3 separate regions of the Homo sapiens genome follow, and all the other regions are linked to region 2. Evidence: promoter capture Hi-C in 16 types of primary human blood cells and fetal thymus (Javierre and others, 2016). All regions are on one chromosome and are shown on one strand. The core of a region is centred on a gene start or on the middle of the fragment in contact, and the rest is flanking DNA. Distances in the headings are between cores, read along the strand shown. Region 1 overlaps RAB3GAP2 (RAB3 GTPase activating non-catalytic protein subunit 2). Region 2 holds the start of MTARC2 (mitochondrial amidoxime reducing component 2). Region 3 holds the start of BPNT1 (3'(2'), 5'-bisphosphate nucleotidase 1).

Region 1 (4,166 bases), core at 1,516-4,015, 520 kb before region 2:
ATCCGCCTCCCGGGTTCAAGCAGTTCTCCTCCCTTAGTCTCCAAAGTAGCTGGGATTACAGGCATGTGCCAACACACCTGGCCAATTTTTGTATTTTTAGTTAGAGACAGGGTTTTGCCACGTTGGCCAGACTGGTCTCGTACTCCTGACCTCAAGTGATCTGACCGCCTCAGCCTTCCAAAGTGCTGGGATTACAGGCGTGAGCCACCGCGCCTGGCCTCTATAATTGTTTTTATAATTATAACGCCTTGACACACTGTAAGTTGACTTCAAGACATTCCACTTCTTCCAAACCTGGTTCCTTCTTTAATGTGGATAAGACTCAGACTCTCAGAGGAGGTAGGTTTTGAGCTTGGTATCTGTTCCTAATAAGAGAGAGTAAAAGGTTCTCTTTCCACTCCTTTACATTCTAACTAGGCAACTAGAGCATATACTTTTACATTTCACACATCTGCCAAAATTTATTCTAATTCTTGCCTCTGGAGCTGGTTATAGTTCTGGAGTTGTTCATAATCATAGATGGTAGTAGAAATAAGAGTCTCTTACTTCAGCTGAGTAGATTTCTAATAGTCCTGGTATAAAACATTTTGCTCAGCAAAACTTCATAATAGTGCTATATATGGAAAGTTCTGGTTGATGCTGCTGTTCAAGGGAGAGGTCACAGTCCTTACCCTGACCATAGTGCCGTTTTTGTTCCCACCCACCAGTCTCCTTTAGCAAAGATGTCTTTTAAGGAAAGGATCCAAATTCAAAGAGGCTCTCTTGAACAACCAGGATAACTTGAACAACTAGATAACCTCTGAACTTCATTGTACCTGCCTACCTTTACTGTCACCCAAATGCATTCTCCCTCACCATGTACACATGACCCATGACAAGGTACAGGGGTTCAAAAATGGATAATAAGAACAGCTAGAAATAATTGGTACACCCAAAATGGTTGTGAATGAGGTCTATCAACAATTTTCACTTGCTGTGTTTGTCAAGTCACAGTATGAGCAAATCTATCAAGACAAAGAACACCAAGCTACTCTCATCCATTAGGGCCATTTGTAAATATTCCGATTTTATCCAAATGAAGAAATGTTCTACATGTCAGTATTTTTATGTGTTTTTAGAATGAGTAGAAGCATCTTTCAGCTTTTAACTACATTGTTTAAAAGATCCTTACATTTATCCCTGGAGATCCCTCGATTTAGGTTATCCCTAGATTTAGTATATCCTTGCTGAAAAAAGAAGACATGCTTTACAGGTCAGATATAAAGGAAATGTGTTAACACTTATGCATTCTAACTATGCTATCATTGTCCACGTCACTCAGAATCAGCTGCAATAGTGGCACATCAAAATGAAATACTGCAAAATAAAGAGGCACACGACCCTCATGAGTATGAGAAATACAGCTAATTAAGAAGAAAATAAAAGAATAATATAGCTAATTAAGAAAAAAATACAAGGAAAACTAACTGCATCTATTCCACAGAGCAGCCAAGGTGAGCTTGAAAAACCAGAAATCAGATAATGTGGTTTCTGATCATGTTTAGAATAAATTCCAAATTTATAAAGCCTTATATCAGGCCTACTTGCTTCTCTGACCCCATTGCATAGCACATTTTCCTTCTTTTCTACTCATTAGGTTATAATGCCATAAAGCGGCACACCCTTAGGAAGGCACATTTTAGATGAGCCAAAAAGCAAGTCTGTGGCACATTATGACTAAACTAACCCAATTAATACTATCAGGGAAGAATTAGTAGATATCTTTAAGGACAACTTGCCTCACACACAAATGCCTAACTATGTCATTCACAAATATTAACAAAAATCCATTACAGAAAAAGCCAAGTATGTATCAGTGGGCTCATTAAGATGTGGCCATCTGGGTCTGAAATATTATACTATAGCTCAGCACCAGCACTATTCTATATATGTAATAATAACTGTCACACTGGAACCTCTTCTGAAATTATAAATGCATGTGTCCACTTTAGTATGCAATGCCTGTGAGGTTTATTCCAGAAAACCTCAAACTTACTTGGAAGTCTCTTACGTTATTCATAGTGGTAACTTAGCTACATGATTTCAGAAAGCAAATACTAAAAGTCTACCAAATAGCACATGTAAGGTAAGTGCCATTTACACTATCTCTTTCTGGGAAATTCTCCAAGCACATCCCTTTCTGAAAGGTTACTTTCCTAGAATCATGAAGAATCTCCAAGCTTGTTTACACAAACCCCCTCCTTTCCTTCCCTCCCCTCCTCATTCTTGCCATAGCGAATTAAACTGCTGATGAATGCCTGACCAGGAGGCAGCAATAATATAGCTGCTGATGTCCCATGAAGTGGCCTGGTGTAAACAGTATGTCCCCCTCCCCAAATATCCTATATTAGGTTGTAATCCACAGACTCAGTAAAATCTTCACATGAGCTCTGAATGTGAAACAAAGAAGGAGAAATAATCTAAGACAACCACAAACAAGAGACATAGCAAAAGCCATGCAATAGTTTAAATCCGGAGTAAGCAGCAACCAGTCAGTCTTAGGAAAAGCAGAATAGCTGAGGCTCCATTTTGACATAGCATTAGAAAGAGGACCAGGTGTTGTTCGCGGAGGTGCTGCAGTAACCAAATTCCCTGAGCTGCATTTTATCCTATTCAACACATCCTAATTCTCCTAGAGGTCTTCTGAAATGGTTTCCTGTTCTTAATCTCCTCATGGAGTTTTTCCATACATCTCTATTACATGAGCATATCTCTACTTCTTAGCACATGATGCTCTCTGATTTCTCTGCCAAAGCTGTTCTTTTCCTCATCCTCCCCAACTGGGTATGACACAACATCCCTCCAGTTATTCAAGCCAAATATCTGGCAGGGTTTTTTAAAAACTTCTTATTATGGATATTTAAAAATATTAACAAAAGTAAAGAGAATGGCATCTATTACTCACCTTTTGAGAATATCAACCTTTCAACAATCGTGTTTTATCTATTTCACACCACACCCCAGATCAAAGAATTTATTATTGATTTATCACCTTCCTCTCATCCTTCATAACCAGCTCACTGGAAAGTCTTATCATTACCTCTGAAAATTATCCAGAATTCATCCATTTCTCATCTTCACTAATACCACCTTAATCAAAGCCACAATCATCTCTCAACTAAGCTACTGCAACAGCCTTGTAATTGGTCTTCCTGCTTCTACTTTTGCTCCCTACTTCAACCTATTCCATAGAGCAGCCAAGGTGAGCTGTCAAAGTCAGAAATCAGGTAAGTGTGGTTTTCCATTGCATTTAGAATAAACACCAAATTCACAAAGCTTGACATCTGGCCTGCTTTCTTCTCTGCCCCATCTTGGAACAGTCTCAGTCCTGCTACATCACACTGGCCTTCTTTATGTCCCTTCAAACTCTCAAGCCCATTCCTGCCTTGAGACTTTGCATGAGCTGCTGCCCTGGCCTAGAATCCTGTCAGATTCTCATGTTGTTGACTCCCTGTTGCCTTTTAGATCTCAGTTTAACTGTCACAGCCTCTGAAAAAACTTCCTTAACCACCCAATCTATAGCAGTCACTTGCTATCACATTACCATTTGAATTATTTTTCATCCATCTTTCTTTTTTATGTCTCCCTCTCATAGAGTGTAAGCTCCCAGAAATAGGACTGTAAGAAGACCTATCTAATATTCATTCTTCTTTCTTAAAAAAAAAATCCTGATTTTGTTCAGGTATCAACTCCTTCCGTGTGGCCATGGGCCTCAGGAGAAGCTGACCCTCTTATCCTCTAACTCCAGGGAATAATATGATTCAACAATGAATATCTCATATCCCTTGCCAGTGATTAGTTCAGAAATGAGCATGTGGCCCAATCCTGGCCAAGAAGACATAAGGAAAAGTTTGCTAGAGACGTCTAAGAAAGTAGCTCCCTAACTCCTGAAAGAGTCATGAAAAGCCCAAGTCTTTTTCTCCCTCTACCCATTAATGAAGAAACATGTTGTCCACACTACATCTGTGAATGAAACAGGCATTAGGATGAAGCCAACACTGCATATACAAAGTAGACAGAATGAAATAACTTGACATATTTGAATTGCCTGATCAACCAACCCAGGATTCCATTCTATCTTTGGACTTCCTTCTATGTAAGCGAATAAATTTTCTTCATATTTAAGC
Region 2 (4,225 bases), core at 1,726-4,225:
GATAAGGAATTTCCCTGCTCCCCTGAAGGCACCCCCAACCCCAGCATTGGTGAAGCTTAAACAGGGCAGGCTATGATAGATAATGGCTGGTGAAGACAGCAAAGACTTGGCAGCACTCACCATGGCAAAGTTCCTCACTTGATGTCTATCCCCATCATTTTGCACATGAGGAGGTGGAAGCATGGAAAGGTCAAGTTACCCATCTATCTAGGTAACTATTTCTTCTTTGATGTCTCAAAGATACCTCTCACTCGCTGTTCACAATAGGCTCATCATCTTTTTTCCCAGACTATCTTCTTCTCTTGAATTCTCTTTTTTTTTTTTTTGAGACGGAGTCTCTCTCTGTCGCCCAGGCTGGAGTGCAGTGGCGCGATCTCGGCTCACTGAAAGCTCCGCCTCCTGGGTTCACACCATTCTCCTGCCTCAGCCTCCCAAGTAGCTGGGACTACAGATGCCCACCACCATGCCTGGCTAATTTTTTGTATTTTTAGTAGAGACGGGGTTTCACTATGTGAGCCAGGATGGTCTCGATATCCTGACCTCCTGATCCGCCCACCTCGGCCTCCCAAAGTGCTGGGATTACAGGTGTGAGCCACTGTGCCCAGCTTCTCTTGAATTCTTAATCTCTGAGAATGGTACCCCCATCCCACCCCAGACTTTTATGCCACAGAGCCAGGAGGCCCCGTGGGCTCTTCCTCTCCCTCTGGCTCTGTGTTCTGTCATCACTATCTCTTGTTAATTCTGTCCCCTGACCATCTCTCCTAACCACATGTCTATCTCCAGCCCCACTGTTATTTTTCCTTGATTTGGAATTACATCAGCCTGAACTAGGGCATTTGCAACTCATCTAACCATCTTTGGTGTTACTCTTTCTCAGAGCAGCCAGAATGGCCTTCCTAGCACCCAAGTCTAATCATGCCAGACTGTTGTTCAGAATTCTGAGGTGTCTCCACATTAAGTAGAGATAAGATGCCTGTTGATCTGACCTCTGCCCACCTGTCCTGCCTCAACTCCCGCCACCTGCTGCATGCACAGGTACATCCTAATACAGCTGGATTGCTGGTGGTTGCCCAAACATGCCACACTCTCTTGTTCCTTCCATTTTTTCAGGCTATTGCACGTGCTGCTCCTTTTGCCCAGAATCCTCTCCTTTACCCATCTCCAAGCCCCTCCTCATGTTCAAGTCTCAGCTCCAAAGCTCCGCCCTCTGAAAACAGCACTGTCCTGAGATTCAGCTGCTCTTTTGCCTCTGCATCCTCTGCATCTTGACCTTGCTTCTCCTCTGACATTATCCTCTAGACTTGCAGGGGAGGTGTCAGTCTTCTGGGGAGTCAGTGAACTGGATGGAAGGGCAGCTTCTTCTAAACTTTAAATCCCCAGTGCCAATCTAGGACGAAGCCTGGTGAATGATCAATATCTATGTGGTGAAAGAAAGAGATGATTAATCAATAAGACATTTGCCCTGTCTGGGAGCTCACGTATAGCGAGGCGATGGCTTTGTAAGCCCCTCACTCTGACAGCAGGCTTGTGGGCAGGGAGGACTCTGACCCTCCTCAGGAGTTGGGAGAGGCAAAGGGGGTCAGCTACAAGTGTACACACATCACATTCACCACACCATGCTTAAAAAACAAATCCATAAGTCGCAGCTGCCAAGCATGATGTAAATGTATGGGGATTGAGGGACTAATTCTGCTGGCCTGAGGTTTTTTCCTGGGTGGGGAGAGATTCAGGCCCTGTTTTGTCTTTCACTTTTCACAAGGAACAGCCAAAGGGAACCTGGCTCCTCTGGTTCTCCATCCTTCCCGGAGTCTCTTCCCACACTCCAGAACGGGCCCCTTTCTCTGGAGGTGGCCAGCCCAGATTTGGGGGGTGGCCCACTGGTTGGCCTCCTTAAACTTTCCTAGAACTGTGCCACAGTTTAAGGGACAAACTTTTGAAAAACAGAACAACAACAAAAAACTTGAAAGACTTCAAACCTTAATTTGTCTGAGAAAATCCACTGTTAACCCAATAGCTTGCTTGAATGGAGGTGTTAAAGATCAACAAAGCCAGACATTAGTTAAACCATGAAAACAGATTTTACTCAGTAACTACTTACAGTAGGAGAAAAAGCTGATCATTCTCATTTGTGCATAGCAGAATGGGCGTTTTAAAGGGTGAAGGAGAGAATAGGGCCGGGAAGCTAGCAGGGGATCAAGTGAAAAATCATGAAGGGGCGGTCAGTATTAATGACGGGCAGCTGTGCCTGGAGCTGGCCGTTATGAAGCTGGGATTCTATCCTCCCACAGAGACTGGGGGACAGAGGCCTATCCTCCCCATGACTGCATTTCAGAGCAATGGCTTTCAGGTCCTTGAGAAAGACACTTCTGAGGTGTAGGCGATACATATACATCTCAAAGCAACAGAGAAAGGATTCACAGTTGTAAGCCCTTTTAAGAAAATATCCTAAAAAAGGGAGGTCAGGGGCTTTACCATCGGGTGTTGGCTAGAATAAACGGGGAATTCTCCTGGCTGCCTTGAGCTTTCTCGGGAAGACATTTTACTGGGGTCGAGGTTAGGCGGCAGCGGAGGGTGGGGGACCTTGAGTCATGCTCCTATAAGCCACGCTAGAGTTCCTCGTCTTTGAGTGCAGAGGTTTAGACTGTGTCTTTGTGTGCAGAAAGTCCTGCAGTTCTCACAGCGACCTGCCAGAAAAAGTCGTTCCCAAATGTTTGTAAATCCTCCGTTGGGCAACCCGCCTTCACGTTCTGCGGTGATCTTGTCGAGCGACTAAGCGTGCAGTATTAGCAGAGAAGGGGGTGGCAGAGTGCTGGCGCTGAAGGTCATGTTGCATGGGTAACTGTCGTGTTGTAGGGGCGGGGAAGAGGGAGGAGACACTGACCACCCCAGAGGCCGCCCCATTAGCTCGCTTGCTTTGGGCGGCGTCGCTCCCACGGCGCCCAGGGTACCCCCGCCGCTGTCTGCCTGTCTTCCTCCATTACCGCGCAGGCTTGGTCACCGCATTAAGGCATTCCCGCTCTCCGCGGAACTGCTCTGCCGTCTCGGCGGTGAAAGTGTGAGAGGGTCCGTAGTTGGGTCAACTTTGACTCCTCTCGCCTGCCCGGATCCTTAAGGGCCTCCTCGTCCTCCCGGTCTCCGGTCGCTGCCGGGTCTGTGCGCCGGTCCGCGCCCGCCCTCGCTCTGCCATGGGCGCTTCCAGCTCCTCCGCGCTGGCCCGCCTCGGCCTCCCAGCCCGGCCCTGGCCCAGGTGGCTCGGGGTCGCCGCGCTAGGACTGGCCGCCGTGGCCCTGGGGACTGTCGCCTGGCGCCGCGCATGGCCCAGGCGGCGCCGGCGGCTGCAGCAGGTGGGCACCGTGGCGAAGCTCTGGATCTACCCGGTGAAATCCTGCAAAGGGGTGCCGGTGAGCGAGGCTGAGTGCACGGCCATGGGGCTGCGCAGCGGCAACCTGCGGGACAGGTACAGCACAGCGCGGGCGCGGGGCAGCGCGGAGCCTGCCTGGGATGAGGAGCGGGGGGGCAGGTGGGGCCCGATCTATCTGGGAAGGACTATAGAGGTTTGCCACCTGAGTTTCTGGGCTGACTGTTGGGCCGTTGGTCGTTTATCTGGGAAGGCCAAGTTCATGCCAGGTTTATTTTTGGTAAAGTAGGTAGGGGCAATCCCTTGCCCTTCCCTAGACGAGAGATTCCTCCTCTGTAACAGGAGGGGGTCTGACCTGTATCTCCAAGTCTCCTTAGCTCTAAAGTTTGTGATTCTATCCTAGTATACCAAAGTAGAAAAATAAAGCTATTGGCACTAGAAAGCAGCAAGAAAGAAACCAAGTGTTGTTCAAGGACATTGGCTTAGGCCTTGCTGGGCCTTGTTCCTCACATTTCTCCAATCCTGGGGGTGCCCTGGAGGCCTGATACACTTTGATGAAGGATGAGCAAGTGGCATGGGGACTCTGGGGCAGAGGTGATACTTGCCATTAAGGGAATAGTGTCCCCCCTTCTCCCATAGGCAGAGTTGTTCACAGCCTGGAACTTTGGGACTTTTGGGCCTGACACATAGACATTTCATACTTAGGATTAAGATGCCTTCTTCTTTTTTTTTTTTTTTTTTTTTGAGACAGAATCTCACTTCGTAGCTCAGGCTGGAGTGCAGTGGCACTATCTCAGCTCACTGCAACCTCCATCTCCCAAGTTCAAGCAATTCTCCTGCCTCAGCCTCCCAAGTAGCTGAGATTAC
Region 3 (3,818 bases), core at 1,316-3,815, 660 kb before region 2:
AAAACCAAGAATCCATAAAATATTCTATTGATAAATTTGACTCTATAAAACTAAGAGTTGCTGGGCGCGGTGGCCTGTAATCCCAGCACTTCGGGAGGCCAAGTCGGGCGGATGACGAGGTCAGGAGTTCAAGACCAGCCTGACCAACTTGGTGAAACCCTGTCTCTACTAAAAATACAAAAATTAGCCGGGCTTGGTGGCACGCGCCTGTAATCCCAGCTACTCAGGAGGCTGAGGCAGGAGAATTGCTTGAACCTGGGAGGTAGAAGTTGCAGTGAGCTGAGATCATTTGCACCATTGCACTCCAGCCTGGGTGACAGAGCGAGATTCCGTCTCAAAATCAATCAATCAATAAATAAAAATAAAATTAAAACTTCTACATGGCCAAAATACCATAAACTAAATAAACAGGTACTTGACAAAATGAGAAAAAAATATTGTATCACATACCAGACAAATGACTTAATTTGTAAAAGATCAGTATATAAAAGCTGAATAATCCAATAGAAAAATGAGCAAATAAACAAGAACGGGCAACACCTACAAAGAGAAAAGCACTGGCCATTAAATACATAAATACTCAGCTTCACTAATTATGAAAGAAATGCAAACTAAAACAATGAGAAATGATTATTTTATTTTTAATTAATTAATTAATTTATTTATTTTTTGAGACAGAGTTTTTGCTCTTGTTGCCCAGGCTGGAGTGCAATGGCGAGATCTTGGCTCACCGCAACCTCTGCCTCCCGGGTTTAAGCGATTCTCCTGCCTCAGCCTCCCGAGTAGCTGGGATTACAGGCAAGCATCTCCACACCTGGCTAATTTTGTATTTTTAGTAGAGACAGGGTTTCTCCATGTTGGTCAGGCTGGTCTCGAACTTCCGACCTCATGGCCTGCCTAAGCCTCCCAAAGTGCTAGGATTACAGGCGTGAGCCACCGCGCCGGGCCATGATTGTTTATTTTTAAGATTGGCATAGAAAAGAAAATTTGGCAGGGCACGGTGGCTCACACCTGTAATCCCAGCACTTTGGGAGGCCAAGGCAGGTGAATCACCTGAAGTTAGGAGTTCAAGACTAGCCTGGCCAACATGGTGAAACCCCATCTCTACTAAAAATACAAAAATTAACCAGGCATAGTAATACAAAAATTACTCAGGAGGCTGAGGCAGGAAAATTGCTTGAACATAGGAGGCAGAGGTTGTGGTGAGCCGAGATCGCGCCACTGCAGTCCAGCCTGGGCGACAGAGACTCCGACTCAAAAAAAAAAAAAAAAAAAAAAATTGTCGCTGAATGCAGTGGCTCACACCCGTAATCCTAGAACTTTTTGGGAGGCCAAGGCTGGTGTATTGCTTGAGCTCAGGAGTTCGAGACCAGCCTGGGCAACATGGCAAAACCTCGTCTCTACAAAAAAATGCAAAAATTAGATGGTGTGGTGGCACATGCCTGTAGTCCCAGCTGCTCGGGAGGCTGAGGTGGGAGAATCACCAGACCCTGGGAGGTCAAGGTTGCAGTGAGACATAATGGCACCACTGTACTCCAGCCTGGGGGACAGAGCTAGAACCTGTCTTAAAAAAAAAAAAAAAAGAAAGAAAGAAAGGCTGGGCGCGGTGGCTCACGCCTGTAATCCCAGCACTTTGGGAGGCCGAGACGGGCAGATCACGAGGTCAGGAGATCGAAACCATCCTGACTAACACGGTGAAACCCCGTCTCTACTAAAAATACAAAAAAAATTAGCCAGGCTTGGTGGTGGGCGCCTGTAGTCCCAGCTACTCGGGAGGCTGAGGCAGGAGAATGGCGTGAACCTGGGAGGTGGAGCTTGCAGTGAGCCGAGATTGCACCACTGCACTCAAGCCTGGGCGACAGAGCGAGACTCCGTCTCGAAAAAAAAAAAAAAAAAAAAAAAAGAAGGAGGAGGAAGGAGGAGGAAGAAGAAGAAGAAAAAAGAAGAAAGAAGAAGAGTTTGTCCTTTGTCCAGTTTGCAAGGGTGTGAGGGAACATGTTCCTGAGCATTGTTGGCAAAGCGGTGAACCCTCTTAGGAGAGTTTTGAGAACCTTAATAAAAGTATAAAGTACGTATCTTTTGAACCAACAATTATATTTACAGAGAAATCCAAATAAATCACGCAAACCTATAAATATGTAGAAATGGCAGTTGGAAGAATATTTGCTGTTTAAAGAAATTTAATTTTAGGTACCAAGCAGTTTCTAAATTTGGGTGCATCAACAAACTCAATGTCTAGGTTTGTCTTGTTTCTACAGTATATGGCTATAAAAACCTTCCGGATCACGAAAATAAAAGCACAGATAAACAATTAAAATATCGACACTCAAGAGTCCAAGTCGGAAGTTAGAATATCTGGAGAAGCAATCTGATTCACATAAACCTTTTTCGTTTTATTTTTTTAACATAAATCCTATCTACCTGGCTCTTGCCCTGACCGGCCGGAGAGAAACGGTGACAAACCTGGAACAACGTTGGACCAAAGACACTTCAGGAGGAGCAAAAGCGCGTTATCGTAGACCCAGGTCCCTCGTTGTGTCCAGTACCGAGCTTTGGCACTGTCAATAAGTCTTTTGAGAAGGATGGCATCCCTACCTCAGCTACTGAGCATGCGGGAAACTGCGCGCAAGCGCACAACAGCGATTTCACACTGCCTCTTTAGACTCCTGATCCGCGGGAAAATTCCACTTGTCCGTGTTTTCTCCAAGCTCTCCGTAGGTGCAAGTCACCTGTTGCATTAAATAAAAGCGAAAGATGTGTCAACTTTCAAAGATTGGCTAAAAAAAGAAAAAGAAGAAGGAAAGAACACATTAAGCCAGCAACAGTGTGTTGAAACAAAAAAAAGATTGGTTTTGGTTTCAGCTGTCTTCCAGCCCACTTCGTAGAGTTCACTGTTTTAAAATGTTCTTTGTATTAGTGATACCACTCTGCGGCTATTTAACTTCGAACCCCTAGCGGTCCGTGGACAGGCTTCAGCAGGTCCACCACACACACCTCCACCTCCCACTCCCCACGCAATAACACAGCAACTTTATGCAGAATTGTGTCAAAGATGCTTGCTTACCTTTTTTTTTTTTTTTTTTTTTTTTTTTTTAAGCGATAGATAGCTTGCTCTGTCGCCCAGAGTCGATTACGGCTCACTGCTGCCTTCCCACTTCTAGGCTCAAGCCATCCTCCCGCCTCAGCCTTCCGTGTAGCTGGGACTACTGGTGGAGGTGCGCGCCACCACACCCAGCTAATTAAAATATTTTTTGTGTACAGATGGGATCTTTTACTGGGGGGCGTGGTTGGGGAAGGGGGCAGTGTCTCATCCTGTCGCCCAGGCTGGAGTGCAGTGGCGCAGTCTAGGTTCACTACAACCTCCTCCTCCTGGGTTCAAGCGATCCTTCCTCCTTAGCCTCCCAAGTAGCTAGGACTACAGGCGCGCCACCACGCCGGGCTAATTTTGTTTGTTTTTTAAGTAGAGACGGGGTTTCATCATATTGGCCAGGCTGGTCTTGAACTCCTGACCCCAGGTGATCTGCTCACCTCGGCCTCCCAAAGTGCTGGGATTACAGGTGTGAGCCACTGCGCCCAGCTTAAAAAGGCTTTTACGTCTTCATTTGATTTTCACAATAACTCTGTGAGTTAAGTAGACCCTTTTTGGGAAGTGGAAAAATATACATAACTTAAATTATATTACTTTAACCATATATATATATATATATATATATATATATATATATATACACACACACACACACACACATATATACATATATATATTTTTTGAGACGGCGTCTTACTCTGTCGCCCAGGCTGGAGTGCAATGGCTTGAT

Evidence for each region. The method cuts DNA at HindIII sites, captures the fragments that hold promoters and counts their contacts. A CHiCAGO score of 5 or more calls a contact.
Region 1: a fragment that was not itself captured here is called in contact with the fragment with the promoter of MTARC2 in region 2 in 2 of 17 cell types (M1 macrophages and M0 macrophages); the score reaches 5.6 in M1 macrophages.
Region 3: a contact is called between the fragment with the promoter of BPNT1 here and the fragment with the promoter of MTARC2 in region 2, in 1 of 17 cell types (neutrophils). The highest score is 6.3, in neutrophils.

The regions. Positions count from the first base shown.
Region 1 is chr1:220,227,834-220,231,999 of GRCh38, forward strand. All of the region lies in intron 2 of RAB3GAP2 (RAB3 GTPase activating non-catalytic protein subunit 2), which reads right to left. Among named protein-coding and RNA genes, the nearest start is that of SNORA36B, 29 kb to the left of the region's middle. The HindIII fragment of the contact is 1,096 bases long and covers 2,218-3,313 here.
Region 2 is chr1:220,745,347-220,749,571 of GRCh38, forward strand. MTARC2 (mitochondrial amidoxime reducing component 2) reads left to right here and starts at 2,976. Exons shown (of 8, transcript NM_017898.5): 1 at 2,976-3,457. The coding sequence starts at 3,186. LOC124904516 (a long non-coding RNA gene) reads right to left here and starts at 3,469. Exons shown (of 2, transcript XR_007066884.1): 1 at 2,473-3,469; 2 at 1-1,417. The HindIII fragment of the contact is 9,208 bases long and covers 54-4,225 here.
Region 3 is chr1:220,087,223-220,091,040 of GRCh38, forward strand. It overlaps BPNT1 (3'(2'), 5'-bisphosphate nucleotidase 1), which reads right to left and starts at 2,566. Exons shown (of 9, transcript NM_006085.6): 1 at 2,464-2,566. RefSeq lists an enhancer at 2,677-2,866. The HindIII fragment of the contact is 18,631 bases long and covers 1-3,818 here.